Regions from separate parts of the Homo sapiens genome. Here regions 2 and 3 are each linked to region 1. The links are contacts of gene promoters, found by promoter capture Hi-C in blood cells and fetal thymus (Javierre and others, 2016). All regions are on one chromosome and are shown on one strand. Each heading gives the region's core, a stretch centred on a gene start or on the middle of the fragment in contact. The rest is flanking DNA. Distances are from core to core; before and after follow the strand shown. Region 1 holds the start of WHRN (whirlin). Region 2 overlaps TEX48 (testis expressed 48). Region 3 overlaps AKNA (AT-hook transcription factor).

Region 1 (4,806 bases), core at 1,015-3,514:
CTGCCTCTTGCCTGAGGGGACACAGTGCAAACTGATACTAAGGTGGTTATGTAAGATGGATGGAAGAAACTCCAACGATTTCTTTTTCTATCATCTGCCCTCCCAAACCGTCCTCTATGAAATTAAACAACAGCACAGCATTTCAGACGGTCTCTGATGTTTGCAGAAGAAAGTGTTTCTTTTTCTACTAAGACTGCATGCAGCCTGGTTTCTGCTGCCTAAAGCAAAACACCTTCTTGAAAACATCCTTTGCACAGAAATAAAATGTTGGGACTGGGGATCTTAGCTCCTGGGATGCATTTATCAAACCAATCACAGTAATTATAATTAAAACAAACTAAGTGAGAGCTGAGCATGAAACACATTAGCAGGAAACCTGAACTGCATACAATTAAGCCCTGCTTGGTGGCATTTTGAGGTATGTCATTAATACATTTTTGGGGTGGAGAAGATTGATTTTTTTTCCTTAAACATCTTGGTCTAGTTGCATGAAAGGCTTCAACAACAGTTACAAAGGAGGAATAAGGATAGACACCATTAACTGCTAAGATTAGAGCTTTAAGACAGATGGCCAAAGGTAGCCTAATTGGCTATTTTTTAAAAAATCTTCCTCAGACACACTGTTAAATATGTTTATTGGGCATTAATTTAACCTATGTCTGTTTTAGGGAAGTAAAGAATTGAAGATCTTTAGGGAAAACACAGCTTCCATTCCTAGCCTCAATGCATTAAGTCAGCAGTGTTGAAAACCTTTCCACTCTTCCCCATTGTCTAGAGGAGAAAGTCCGTTTTCCTTACAGGTTCTTCATTCAGGTGTCGCCTCTTCAGTAAAGTCCTTACCATATTCTCCTCTCCTAAACCTGGGCTCCCTCGCCATTACAACAGGTATCACACTGGTTTTTAACTCTATTTATTTGATCTTTCTCCCCTGGGTCTCCAGCACCCAGCACATGACCCAGCACAGAGCAGATGCTTCAAAAACGTTGAATGAAAAGCGACCAAATAAATAAATAAATAAATAAATAAATAAATAAATAAATAAATGAATGATCTATCCTTCTGGGTCCACCACAAACCAAATCCTCCAGGTAATCCTCCATCTTGCCCTACCCTGGATAGATGTCAGCTGGCTCTGCAATGGAAATTCTGGAAGACTTTTACGAAAAATACATAGAAGAGTAGCTTAGGAGAGGCAGCTCAGGTTGGAAGGGATGTGTGTGAGGTAGGGTGTGTGTGTGTATGTGTGTGTGTGTGTGTGTAGCACTATGAAGCTCCCCATTAGAATAAAAGCACAGGATTTTACTTAAATCTTATTTGGGGGATTGGGTGGGTGACGACCGACTCCAGGGCACACCTGGGTGTATCTTCCCATTTTGCCTAGGGATGGGAGAGCATAGAAGAGATTTTTCTCCAAGCCACTTCAAATATGTATATTTTTAATTTCTATTTTGAGATTGTAGATCCAAATGCAGTTCTAAGAAATAATACATAGACATGCCATGTACCCTTCACCCAGTTTCCCCCGATGTTGACACGATGGCAACCAGGACATTGACATTGATAAAATCCACCCACCTTACTCAGATTTCACCAGTTTTATATGCGCTCATTTGTACGTGTGTGCGCGAGCGTGGGGTGTACACTTTATATAATATTTCTGAAAGTGGCTTTTCCCTTGCAATGGAGACTGGGAAGGGGTCCAGCCTGATCCATCCCTGCCACGGAGTTGACTCCGGCAGACAGCAGTCTATGCTTGTATTCGTCTCTCGCACACAGTAGGTGGCCAACGACCGTCCACATAAACCCTGGAATTTGTCATGTCAGGGCGCGTGCAGGAGGGGAGCGCCACATTGTAAGGAAGAAAACCGAGACTGAAGTGCCCAGTATTTTGGAAGCAAAAATCAAACAAACAAAAAACTTGACGATTTCCCCCCGAATTGTGAATTAGCTAGCCGGCTAATTACTCCAAAGCGATCCTGGTGTCGGCACTCGCTGCGACCGCCGAAGAGCGCTGTTTCTGAGCCCCGCTCCCGGCTCTGCCGGCGGGGTAGGGGACGCGGGGGCTCCTCCCACCCCTACCGCCGCGTTCACCCCTTTCTTCCCTGGGGCTGGACTGTTTCACCCCGTCTCCAGGCAACGGCCAGGCGCACCGGGCGGGACGTCATTTCCTGAGGAGCCCGTGGGGAGGGGGCGGGCAGGAGGAGGGACGAGGGGGCGGGGCCCGGGCCGGGCTGGCAACGAGACGGCGTCGGAACTCGCTGGAAGACTCGGCCCGGGTGGCTCAACAGTTCGCAAAGTCCGGGCTTGCGGCCGGGCGGCGCAGAGGCGCGGAGGCTCCCCGGGCGGCTGCATCCCGGGGCTGCCCCGGACATGCCCCGCACCCCTTGTCGGACGCCCGCGCCGCTTCACCGGCTGCCACTCCCCGGAGTGCTCTGGGACTAGAGCGCCCTCCGCCCCAACTTCTGACTTTGGGGTCCCCCAGCCCTAGAGGAACGGGCGCCCGGCTGGGGGAGCCCCGGGCATGGTGTGACGGGGCAGTCAGGTCAGCTTTGCGGCGCCCCCAAACTCCAGCCACCCGTCGTCTCCGTGCCCTCCAGAATGTAGCTGCTGACCCCGCGCCCCCCGGACTCCAGCAGCAGTCTCCGCCACCTCCGGGCTCCAGCAGCCAACTCTTGTGTCTCTCAGGAACCCGCCGACGTCTCCGCGTCCCCCGGATTCCAGGTTCGCGACCCCCGCCGTCTTCGCGCCTCCGGGACTCTAGCAGCGGTCTCCGCGACCCCCTAGGATCCAGCCACTGTACCCGTGCTCCCCAAACCCAGGCTCCAGCCGTCGTCTCCGCGCTCCCGGGGATCCAGCTGTCGCGCCAGTACCCGCGAGGACAGCGGCACCGCCCACACCCCGCGCGCTCAGAGCCCGGCCGGGCCTCGGCGTGGAGATGAACGCGCCGCTGGACGGCCTGTCGGTGAGCTCGTCCTCCACCGGCTCGCTGGGCTCGGCGGCCGGGGCGGGCGGCGGCGGGGGCGCGGGGCTGCGGTTACTGTCTGCCAACGTGCGCCAGCTGCACCAAGCGCTGACCGCGCTGCTGAGCGAGGCGGAGCGGGAGCAGTTCACCCACTGCCTGAACGCTTACCACGCGCGCCGCAACGTCTTCGACCTGGTGCGCACCCTGCGCGTGCTGCTGGACAGTCCGGTCAAGCGGCGCCTGCTGCCCATGCTTCGTCTGGTCATCCCGCGCTCCGACCAGCTGCTCTTCGACCAATACACGGCCGAGGGCCTCTACCTGCCCGCCACCACCCCCTACAGGCAGCCCGCCTGGGGCGGCCCCGACAGCGCGGGGCCAGGGGAGGTGCGCCTGGTGAGTTTGCGGCGTGCCAAGGCCCACGAGGGCTTGGGCTTCAGCATCCGTGGGGGCTCGGAGCACGGCGTGGGCATCTACGTGTCTCTGGTGGAACCAGGCTCTCTAGCTGAGAAGGAAGGACTGCGGGTCGGGGACCAGATTCTGCGCGTCAACGACAAATCCCTGGCCCGGGTGACCCACGCGGAGGCCGTCAAGGTAAGGCTGTGGTTTGGAGAGAGTCTGGGGCAGAGTATGGACAGAGTGGCACAGCTTTTTCAGTAACTCCATGCTGTGTGTCCTTAGATGAATCACTTGGCCTTTCTGGGCTTTTTTTTTTTTTTTAATACTTTAAAACAGGAATGTATAGCTTACAGAGCAAATAGCTCTCAGGCACTGGGAACGTAGTTCTGCACAGACATGGCCCTTGCCTTTGTGAGGCTTAAAAGCTAGTGCAGGTGATAGTAACAAATACTTGAGCAAATGTGTGGTTACAATGTGTGAATAGGGCTGTGGATTCTTATGAGCATTAAAAGAGATAAAATCTCTGCTTGGCATAATTAGGTGGCCTTTGCTACTGCCATTCTGTGGTTTTTTGTTTTTTGTTTTTCCCTGAAACAGTTTTGTTAGCTCTTAAGTGGCCTGAGGAGGCCGTTTGTGTGATCCACAGTGCACTGGCTTGACGCTGCTGTTTTTGGACCAGGTTGTGTATCCTGAAGCAAGTCACTTGCCCTCTCAGGACCTCTTGTTCTCCACTTGGAAAATGGGGCCACTGGACCAAATAAGCGGTCCCTAACCTTTTTGGAAATGAGACTCCTGCCTGAATGTAAAAAATAAATTCCCTAGCCCCTGAGAGTGTTTGTCCTTTCTGCCATTTGTTAATTGAGAAATATAACCTCATGACAACAGGCTTCCAGGGATTTAATCATGCTTTTTAAAGGAGTGTGTGTGCTTACTGATCTACAGCCCAGGGCTACTGAAAACCAGTTGGAGTATGATGGATAGTGTTGGGTCCAGGGTGGATTCATGGATCCTTTGCAGGCATTTTTCCCCCTTCCCCCCTCCCCCGACCTCCTTTGCGTACAAGAAGTGAAGAGTTTGGGGGAAAAGGGACACATGCTCTGCTTCTGCAGAGAAATGCTTCTCAGGGGGTTGGACTGTTCTGTAAACCCCCACTCCCCGCCAGCGCAGGTGTTTTGAACTCCAGCTGAGGGCCTGCTGGCTGCTGGGAAACTCCTAGGCAGCAGAGGCCCACGACTACTTCCTCCTGAGTGCCGTTCAGTGGCCTGTGTCCAGGTGAGTCTTGAGCCGTCTCCCTGGCTGTGCACCTGATGTTGGCTTCCCTCATTTGCTTCCCAGCCCATCAACCCCTTTGGAGGAAGCCCTTGAGGCTTTCAGAAACTTCTTTGTAGCTTCTGGAAAAAGGCCGATCGGTTTATACTGCATCAGGGTGCAGTGGGCAAAGCTCGTTG
Region 2 (4,806 bases), core at 1,222-3,721, 170 kb before region 1:
GTGTTGTGCAATGTGATTGTTCTTCTCTAGAAAAATGCTCCCTGAAAAAGTTTATTTGGGCAGCCAGGGGAAGGAGTAAGAGGAGTATACGTGGGTAGTAAAGATCAAGTTGGGTGGAGAGAGAAAGACAGAAGCAAAGAAAACAGGTGTCAGAAGGTTTGAGTAAGAGTAAGGTCTTTTTTATCTTTTTCTTCCTGAGGCCATAGCATTCCAGACAAAGAAGCCTTCTATTTATGTTTGGCATTTTTGTCTTCTCTCTTCTCTAGAGCTCCTCTTAAATCTGATTTTTGACATCAAAACTTTGTCATCATGGCTACAGTAATCCTAAGTCATCTAGTGAACTTTTGCCATTTATTAAGACAAATACATGAGAGTACCTATAGTGAGAGTATATATACGGAGTTTTTCCAGGAAGAGGCAACAACCTTAATGCAGATGAGACCACGACAAGCAGGAAAGAGCACGCTACAATTGATAAACAGTTTCTACTTGTGCAGTGTCTTGAATTTCTTGACCAAGCAGAGCCTAAAAGAGGCCACATGATCAAAAACCTGAAAATTACTGACTCCCGAATATAAGCTAAAAAAAAAAAGTGACCTTCTTTTATGATTTACCAAGACAGAACACATGCTGACAAAGGTTTAGAGGGACCCAAGTCCAGGTTTTAGCAATTTCTTCTAGACAAATCAATTACCACTCCAGTAAAACTCCAGACACTCAGGGCTGACTCATGGTGGGGGCTTGTCAGAGCTATGCTTCCATTCCTTTCTTATGAAGTGCATCCTTCTACATTCAACATACACAAGGCAGTCTGGAACAAAGCCAAACCCCGTGAGGCAAGCATTTTTATAAGTGGATGAAGACAACTGAAACTAAAGCAAGTAGCAGAATACGAAGCAGATTAATGGCAAGGATATTTGCTAAATGGTGTATCTCCAAAACAAAAGATCTAACTGCCTGTATAAATTTCTATTTCTTTATAAATTATAGGAAAATGAAATAAATCCACTAAAGAGAACTCAATGAAATACATCAGAGCTAAAATCATGTTAAAAAAAAAAAATCCCATGACACTGACACTAGGTCTAGGGAAAAACAAAAAAACAAACAAACAAACAAAAACACCTCACCTGGCAGCAGATCCAAAAGACTATTGGAGATTGGAGCTAAATGGACCTAGTGAGTGCCCCCACTTTGACCAAAAAATCCACACAATGGTGACATCTGTATGTGTCTAGCCCGCATCGTATCTAACCACAAGGAACAGCTTATGTGCAGAAAGTTAAAAATCAGTTAGTGGAAGGGAGGAAGGAGATCTGTTTGGCATAGTTTTTTTCCAACAGTCAGAGAAGGTTCATGTGTTTATTCAACAAATATGTATAAAGTACCTATTCTGTGCCCATCCCTGGGCTGAGTGCTGAGGATACAAAAGTGAATAAAGGCCAGGCGCGGTGGCTCACGCCTGGAATCCCAGCACTTTGGGAGGCCGAGATGGGCAGATCACTAGGTCAGGAGATCGAGACCATCCTGGCTAACACAGTGAAACCCCGTCTCTACTAAAAATACAAAAAATTAGCCAGGCGTGGTGGCAGGTGCCTGTAGTCCCAGCTACTCGGGAGGCTGAGGCAGGAGAATGGCGTGAACCCGGGAGGCGGAGCACGAAGTGAGACAAGATTGCGCCACTGTACTCCAGCCTGGGCAACAGAGCGCGACTCCATCTCAAAAAAAAAAAAAAGTGAATAAAATACTGTCCCTGCTTCCATGGACATTTGTCTATCCTGTGTCTTGTTCACTGCTATATCTCCAGCACCTAACAGTACCTGGAACATGGCAGGTTTTCAGTAAATACATGTGAAATAAATGAAGAAAAAAAAAAGAAAAAAGCTTGGCTGGGCTCAGTGTCTCAAGCCTATAACCCAGCACTTTTGGAGGCTGAGGCAGGAGATCTCTTGAGCTAAGGAATTCGAGATAAGCCTGGGCAATACGGCAAAATCCCATCTCTACCAAAACAAAAACAAAAAAACTATAACCGGGCATGGTAGTGCGAGCCTGTAGTCCAAGCTACTCAGGAGGCTGAGGCAGGGAAATCGCTTGCACCTGGGAGGATGAGGCTGGAGTGAGCCCTGATGGTGCCACTACAGTCCAGCACGGGTGTCAGAGTGAGACCCTGTCTCAAAAAATAAAAAAAGAAAAGAAAAAGAAAAAGGAAAAAGCTCATGAACTAGTATCCAGACTGTCAACAAGAGGCAGTTACAAGACAACGTTTCAACAAGTGTTTATTAAGCATTTACCATGAGTTAGGCAGTCACTGTACAATAACAGGCTGTGTACAGGAAAACATGGTGGGCCAGCAGGGGAGTGCTGTGGGAGCACAAGGGAGGGACTCCTAACTTATCCCATGCCTTCCTGTAGCCCCTGAGCTGAATCCTGGAGTTTGATGACTCAAGGATTGAGGTGAGAACATCCCAGGTAGAGGGAACAGGATGTGAACAGGGTCCATTCAGTAAAAGGTGATTGGGGAAGCTGCCTATACAGCATCTCTTATGGCTGTAGGGCGGTGAGTGCAACCCAGAGAAGATGAGGATGAAGAGAATAACAGTGGTGATCACAAAAGGAGTTGGATCTGCAGACTTGGGGACCCCCTTGGTGGGGCAGAGGGTTGTTGGGGCAGAAGAGAGATAGGATTTACATGTCTACCAGATAACTCTAGCTTTAGGTGGAGGCAAACAAACCAATGAGAAAGTTTAAGCAGTGGTCCAGGTGAGAAGTGATGGTGGCTTACACTACGGTGAAGGAAATGGCAAAGGATTGGCTGGGCAGACAGACTGAAGAGATATTTGGAAAGTAAAGTTCAAAGACTGATGAACACGAGCAGATGGCAGGAGGCTGGCAGGCTTCTGACTCTAGAGACAGAGTGAATAATAGGATCATCCCACGAAATAGGGAACATGGGAAGAAGATAGATATGCTTTGCAGTGGACAGGGAAGAAAAATAGTCCCAACCAGTAAACAGAGAGCAGAACTAAAATTGACTCATGAAACCATCAGAGTAAGCTTAGCATGTGAATGAGGTAAGCTGTGTCCTACAGCTTGTGATGTTCCTGGCACAAAAACTACCACCCACCTCTCTACTGCCCCCAGGGCCTGCAAGTGCTTTTACTCAAGACAAGAATAAATGCTAGTTTATTCTACAAACACCCTCAATTTTTATTCTACAAACAATTATTGACTTCCCACACTGCACTAGGTACTGCTCTAGACACTGAGAATAGAGCAGTAAACCAAACAGCTAAAATCCATGACCTCATGTGACTTCTAATTTAGTGGGAAGAAGCAGACCTTCAACACAGTAATTTAGCAAATTATGTAGAGTGTTAGGAAATGAAGCTGGGCACGGTGACTCACACCTGTAACCCCAGCACTTTGGGAGGCCAACATGGGAGGATCACTTGATTTCAAGACCAGCCTGAGCAATACAGTGAGACCCCTTCTCTTAAAAAAAAAAAAAAAAAAGAATTTGCTGGACATGGTGGCATGCACCTGTAGTCCCAGCTACTCAGGAGGCTGAGGCAGGAGGAGCCCAGAAGTTCAAGGCTGCAGTGAACCATGATTGTGCCACTGCACTCCAGCCTGAGCATAGAGCTAGACCCTGTCAAGAAAGAGAGTGAGAGCAAGAGAGAAGGAAAGAAGGAAGGAAGGAAGGAAGGAAGGAAGGAAGGAAGGAAGGAAGGAAGGAAGGAAGGAAGGAAGGAAAGAAAAAGAGAAAAGAGAAAAAAAGAAAGAAAAGAAAAAAAGAAGAAAAAGAGAGAAAGAAAGAAGAAAAAAGAAAGAGAAAATGTTTGAAAAGTAAACAAGGAAGAGATTAGGAAGTGCTGGGGTGCTGGGCAAGGGGGTTATAATGTTAAATACAACAGAGAAAGTCTCACTAGAAAAGGTGAAGCAAAGACTTGAAGGTAATGACAGAATGTTGTTATCTAAGAGAACTGAATTCCAGGCAGAGAGTAAAACAAGCACAAATTGTTGAGTTGGGAGCTTGCTGTGTTTTAAAACTCAGCAGGGGGGGCAAATGGAATTGGGGAATTGGAGGAATTGAAGACAGAGTTGGTGATGAGGGTTGTGGGTGGACAGGAGGGAAGAAGGATGATTAGATTACAGAGTATCTTAAGACCCAGGTGAGAACTTTGGTTTTTCTTCTGAGGAATATGCAAAACCACTGAATTTTGGAGAAAAGAAAGAGAAAAAATCTTTCTGGCCAGGCGCGGTGACTCACTCCTGTAATCCCAGCACCTTTTGAGGCCAATGTGGGAGGATCACTTGAGCCCAGGAGTTCAAGGCCAGCCTGGGCTATATAGGGAGACCACGTCTCTACAAAAAATACAAAAGTTAGCCAGGTGTGGTGGTGCACACCTGTAGTCCCAGCTACTGGGGAGGCTGAAGCAGGAGGATCACTTGAGCCCAGGAGTTTGAGGCTGCAGTGAGCTGTGATCACGCCACTGTACTCCAGCCTGGGTGACAGAGTAAAACTCTGTCTCAAAAAAAAAAAAAAGTTTGCATTTACCCCCACATATTTGCTATTTCTTATCCTATTCATCCCTTTCTGTAAATGTGAATTTCCATCTGGTATCATTTTCCTTCGATCTTAGCATTTTTTACAGCCTGGGCCTTCTAAAGACAAATTCTCTCTATTTTTGTTTATCTTATAATGTCTTCATTTTGCCTTAATTATTGAAGGATATTTTCATGGAATATGAAGTGAAAGGTTTACAGTTTCTTTCTTTCATGTTTATTTATTCCAGTTGTTTTAAG
Region 3 (4,806 bases), core at 1,444-3,943, 150 kb after region 1:
TTTCTTCTACTTATTTTAAAAATGTTAACTATTTTTTTTTTTTTTTTTTGAGACAGAGTCTCGCTCTTTCACCCAGGCCAGACTGCAGTGGCACAATCTCGGCTCACTGCAAGCTCTGCCTCCCAGGTTCACGCCATTCTCCTGCCTCAGCCTCCCAAGTAGCTGGGACTACAGGCGCCCACCACCATGCCTGGCTAATTTTTTGTATTTTTAGTAGAGACGGGGTTTCACCGTGTTAGCCAAGATGGTCTCGATCTCCTGACCTCGTGATCCGCCCTCCTCAGCCTCCCAAAGTGCTGGGATTACAGGCGTGAGCCACCGCGCCCAGCCTAAAAATGTTAACTATTAAATAGCCTCAGGTAGTCCTTCGAGAGGTATTCCAGAAGAAGGTGTTGTTATCACAGATGACAGTGCTATTATTGCCCCAGAAGAACAAGATGTGGAGGTAGAAGACAGGGATATTGATGACCCTGACCCTATACAGGCCTAGGCTAATGTGTGTGTGTGTCTGTGATGTGTGTGTGTTTGTCTTAGTTTCTAACAGAAAAGTTTTTAAAGTTTTTTAAAAAAAAGTTAAAAATAGAAAAAAGCTTATAAGGATATCAAGAAAGAAAATATTTTTTACTTTACAATGTATTTTTAAGTTAAATGTTATTACAAAAGAGTCAAAAGGTTAAAAACCATTTAAAAAGCTTATAAAGTAAAAATGTTACTGTAAGTTAAACTTGATTAATTATTGAAGAAAAAACTTTTGTATAAATGTTGTAAATTTAGCCTAAGTGTATGGTGTTTATAAAGTCTACAGCAGTGTACAGTAATGTCCTAGGCCTTCACATTCACTCACCACTCACTCACTGACTCACCCAGAGCAACTTCCAGTCCTGCGAGCTCCATTCATGGTAAGGACCCTTTACAGGTGTACCATTTTTAAAATCTTTTATACCATATTTTTATGGTCTGTTTTCTATGTTTAGATACACAAATACTTACCATTGTGTTACAGATACCTACAGTATTCAGCAGGCAATGTTGTAGAGGTTTGTAGCCTACAATAATGGGCTATTCCATCTACCTCACATATGTAATAGGTGTGGGTAATCTATGATGTTTGTGACATGGTGAAACAGAATAACAATGTGTTTCTGGGAGCTTATACCCAATATTAAGTGATGCGTGACTATACTTAAAACAGAAATGAGGCTGGGCACGGTGGCTCACGCCTGTAATCCTAACACTTTGGGAGGCTGAGGCGGGTGGATCACCTGAGGTCAGAAGCTCAAGACCAGCCTGGCCAACATGGCAAAACCCCATCTCCACTAAAAATACAAAAATTAGCCAGACGTGGTGGCTGGCACCTAAAATCCCAGCTACTCAGGAGGCTGAGGCAGGAGAATGGCTTAAACCCGGGGGCGGAGGTTGCAGTGAGCTGAGATTGCGCCACTTCACTTCAGCCTGGGCGAAAGAGCAAAACTCCATCTCAAAAAACATAAAAAAAAAAAACAAAAAATAAGATCATTTTATATGTGAATATTTGGCGACCTCCTTTTTTCACTAAATTGTACTATAAACACTTTCCATGTCTATGAAATCTATATGTGATTCAGTTTTTGACCTTTAGAAATACACATGAATTATTTATTGAAATTAAAAACCACCAAAAAGAACTTAAATTGATGAGTTTTTACAAGGTGAACAGACACCAAGAAACTCAGTATGATCTGAACCCCAGAACCTCACTGAAGTCCCATTTAGTCACTACCTGCTTCCCAAACATAACCACTGTTCTGACTTCTGACACCTCAGATTAGCTTTGCCTAAAAGGTTCATCTTTTTTTTTTTTTGAGATGGAGTCTCGCTCTGTTGTCCAGGCTGGAGTGCAATGGTGCACTCTCTGCTCACTGCAACATCCACCTCCCGGGTTCAAGAGATTCTCCTGCCTCAGCCTCCTGAGAAGCTGGGATTATAGGCACGCGCCACCACGCCTGGCTAATTTTTGTATTTTTAGTGGATATGGGGTTTCACCATGTTGGTCAGGCTGGTCTCGAACTCCTGACCTTGTGACCCGCCCGCCTCGGCCTCCCAAAGTGCTGGGATTACCGGCATGAGCCACCACGCCCAGCTGGTTCATTATTTTAAAAACGTTTTTAATTAAACTTTTTTTTTTTGAGATGGAGTCTCACTCTGTCCCCCAGGCTGGTATGTAGTGGTACGATCTCAGCTCACTGCAACCTCCACCACTCAGGTTCAAGTGATTCTCCAGCCTCAGCCTCGCGAGTAGCTGGGACTACAGGTATGCACCACTGCGTCCAGCTAATTTTTGTATTTTTAGTAGAAATGGGTTTCACCATGTTGGCCAGGCTAGTCTCAAACTCCTGACCTCAAGTGATCCGCCCGCCTCAGCCTCCCAAAGTGCTGGGATTATAGGTGTGAGCCGCCACGCCCGGCCTTTAATTAAACTTTTTATTTGGAGATAATTGTAGATTCACATGCAGTTATAAGAAATAATACACAGAGATCCCATGTGCCTTTACTCAGTTTTCCCCAGTGAGACTATCTTGCAAAACTGTAGTACAATGTCACAGCCAGATGTTGACATTGATGCAGTCAAGATACAGAACGTTCCATCACCACAAGGAGCCTCATGCTACCCTTTCATAGGCACACCCACTTCCCTCCTGCCCCCAGCCTGTCCTTAACCCCTGGTAAGCACTAATCTGTTCTCCATTTCTATAATTTTATCATTTCAAGAATGTTCTATAAATAGAATCATATACTATGTAACCTTTTGGGATTGGCTTTTCACTCAGCATAATTCTCTGGAGATTTATCTAGATTATTCTGTGTATTAATAGTTAGCTCCTTTATATATTGCTGAGTAGTATTCCAAGGGTTTCATTGCTTTTATTTTTTATTTATTTCTTTATTGTTTTTGAGACAGGGTCTTGCTCTGTCACCCAGGCTGCAGTGCAGTGTCGCCATTATGGCTCACTGCAGCCTTGTCCTCCCTGGCCCAAGCGATCCTCCTGCTTCAGCCTCCCAAGTAGCTGGGACCAAAGGGGCATACTTCCACATCCAGCTAATTTTTTTATATATATAATTTTTTTTTTTTTTTGCAAAGATGGGGTCTTTCTATATTACCTAGGCTAGACTCAAACTTCTGGGCGCAAGCAATCCTCCCGTCTCAGCCTCCCAGAGTGCTGGGATTACAGGCGTGAGCCACCATGTCTGGCCAGTTCATTGCTTTTAATGCAGGGGACGGATTAGTGGTTTTTAACCTTTGGTCACCCATCCCTTTGGGAGATTCGTTAAAAGTTATTAATGCTCTCCCCAGAAACATGCATACGTGGAAAGAGGTGACTATAATTTCAGAGGAGGCTCTGAAGCCAGCCCCACAAAAACATGGTGAGAAGGTGATCAAGTCTTGAGGAACCCAAGTGAAGAAGTGATTAATTCTTTGCAGGGGAAGTTCCTGAAGACTCGGATGGTGTCATGGTGGGTGGGAGGAGGGGTTCTGGTTAGAAACAGCGGGGCAGGCCCAGCTCAGCACCCCACACTCCCAGCAAAATCTAGATCTTCTGGTTTGGAGGTCAGTGTGGGTCATTGGCCTCATCAGGAACTTCCTTTGTGACCTTGAACTAGGCACCGTCTCTTCACTTCCCCCATCATTCCACCTGCACAAGTGTGAGCTTGGAAGTTCTCTCTGCTTAAACTCACTTTGGGTTCTCTCTCTGCCTCCCTAGCGGTTCCTGGCTCAGAGTTTGAGGGGCACAAACGGATTTCTGAACAGCCCCTTCCCAACAAGACAATCAGCCCACCCCCAGCCCCCGCCCCTGCCGCTGCGCCTCTACCCTGTGGACCAACAGAGACCATCCCCAGCTTCCTGCTCACCAGGGCAGGGCGAGAGTAAGTTAGACACTTGGATCCTGGGGATTCAAGCTCATCATACAGACGGGAGCGTGATGCGACGTGTTAGCAGGTGGAGGTGGAGACCTGCCCAGCTCACACAGATGGTGGTGGTAGGAGCAGACGGACCCAGGTGTCCTGCCTCCCAGTTCCCAGCGTTTCTGTGGGACCTCATTGATCTAGACATCGAGGACACACTTCTCCAGCCAGTGGAATATGACCTAAAGATTCACCTTTCTGGTGCTGACACTTATGCCCTCTCTCTCCATCATCTCTTTTCCGAGAAAAGCCTGTCCTTTCTAGGGCTATCTTTTCTGCAATTTGACCATTGATTGTATGGACCAAGAAGCTACTGCCTTCTGAGTTTTTCTTTTCTTTTTTTGGTTCGTGTGCATTTTTTCTACTAAGAAAGTTCCACTTCCTTGGTTGAACAGAAATGGTAAAATCGCTTGGTCAGTTCTCTCACACCTCCTCTTAGTTGCTTTTGGCCAGTGATCACTTACACACCCTTGCTGGAGTGGGTGTCTGTCCCGGGATGCGCTGGGGAGACTGCTCGGTGGTGGCCCAGCCAAGGTTTCTTTGGCTCGAACAGGCATGAGGCTGTCATGTTGCCTACGTGCAAAGTTGTGTCCAGCTGCTGGTGTTTGGCTTCCTTGTCTGAGTTTAGTAAGTCTACCCCTGCAGCCTCCCCTGACATCAGTGGAGGAATTAGAGGCTTGTTTGTCTAGGGTATGCCAGGCCTTGGGAATACAATAGTGGACAAGACTCTATCCTAGGCCTCTTAAAGCTTACCATCTTGTAGGATGAACAGACAAAGAAACAGGCAGTAGTGCCCTCCATTGTGATAAATACCATGATGGCAGAGGACTAAAGGACTGTGGGAGCACAGCGAAGGAGCATCTG

Evidence for each region. Contacts are between HindIII fragments. The CHiCAGO score rates a contact against its expected background, and 5 or more counts as called.
Region 2: a fragment that was not itself captured here is called in contact with the fragment with the promoter of WHRN in region 1 in 3 of 17 cell types (neutrophils, total B cells and naive B cells); the score reaches 8.3 in neutrophils.
Region 3: a contact is called between a fragment that was not itself captured here and the fragment with the promoter of WHRN in region 1, in 4 of 17 cell types (naive CD4 T cells, naive B cells, total B cells and 1 more). The highest score is 5.5, in naive CD4 T cells.

The regions. Positions count from the first base shown.
Region 1 is chr9:114,502,931-114,507,736 of GRCh38, reverse strand. It overlaps WHRN (whirlin), which reads left to right and starts at 2,264. Exons shown (of 12, transcript NM_015404.4): 1 at 2,264-3,553. The coding sequence starts at 2,936. RefSeq lists a silencer at 2,170-2,469 and enhancers at 1,994-2,884, 2,885-3,775. The HindIII fragment of the contact is 12,008 bases long and covers 1-4,806 here.
Region 2 is chr9:114,673,550-114,678,355 of GRCh38, reverse strand. The region is part of intron 1 of TEX48 (testis expressed 48); the gene reads left to right. Among named protein-coding and RNA genes, the nearest start is that of TEX48, 6.2 kb to the left of the region's middle. The HindIII fragment of the contact is 1,170 bases long and covers 1,887-3,056 here.
Region 3 is chr9:114,349,956-114,354,761 of GRCh38, reverse strand. It overlaps AKNA (AT-hook transcription factor), which reads left to right. Exons shown (of 22, transcript NM_001317950.2): 15 at 3,741-3,903. Among named protein-coding and RNA genes, the nearest start is that of ORM2, 22 kb to the right of the region's middle. The HindIII fragment of the contact is 3,998 bases long and covers 695-4,692 here.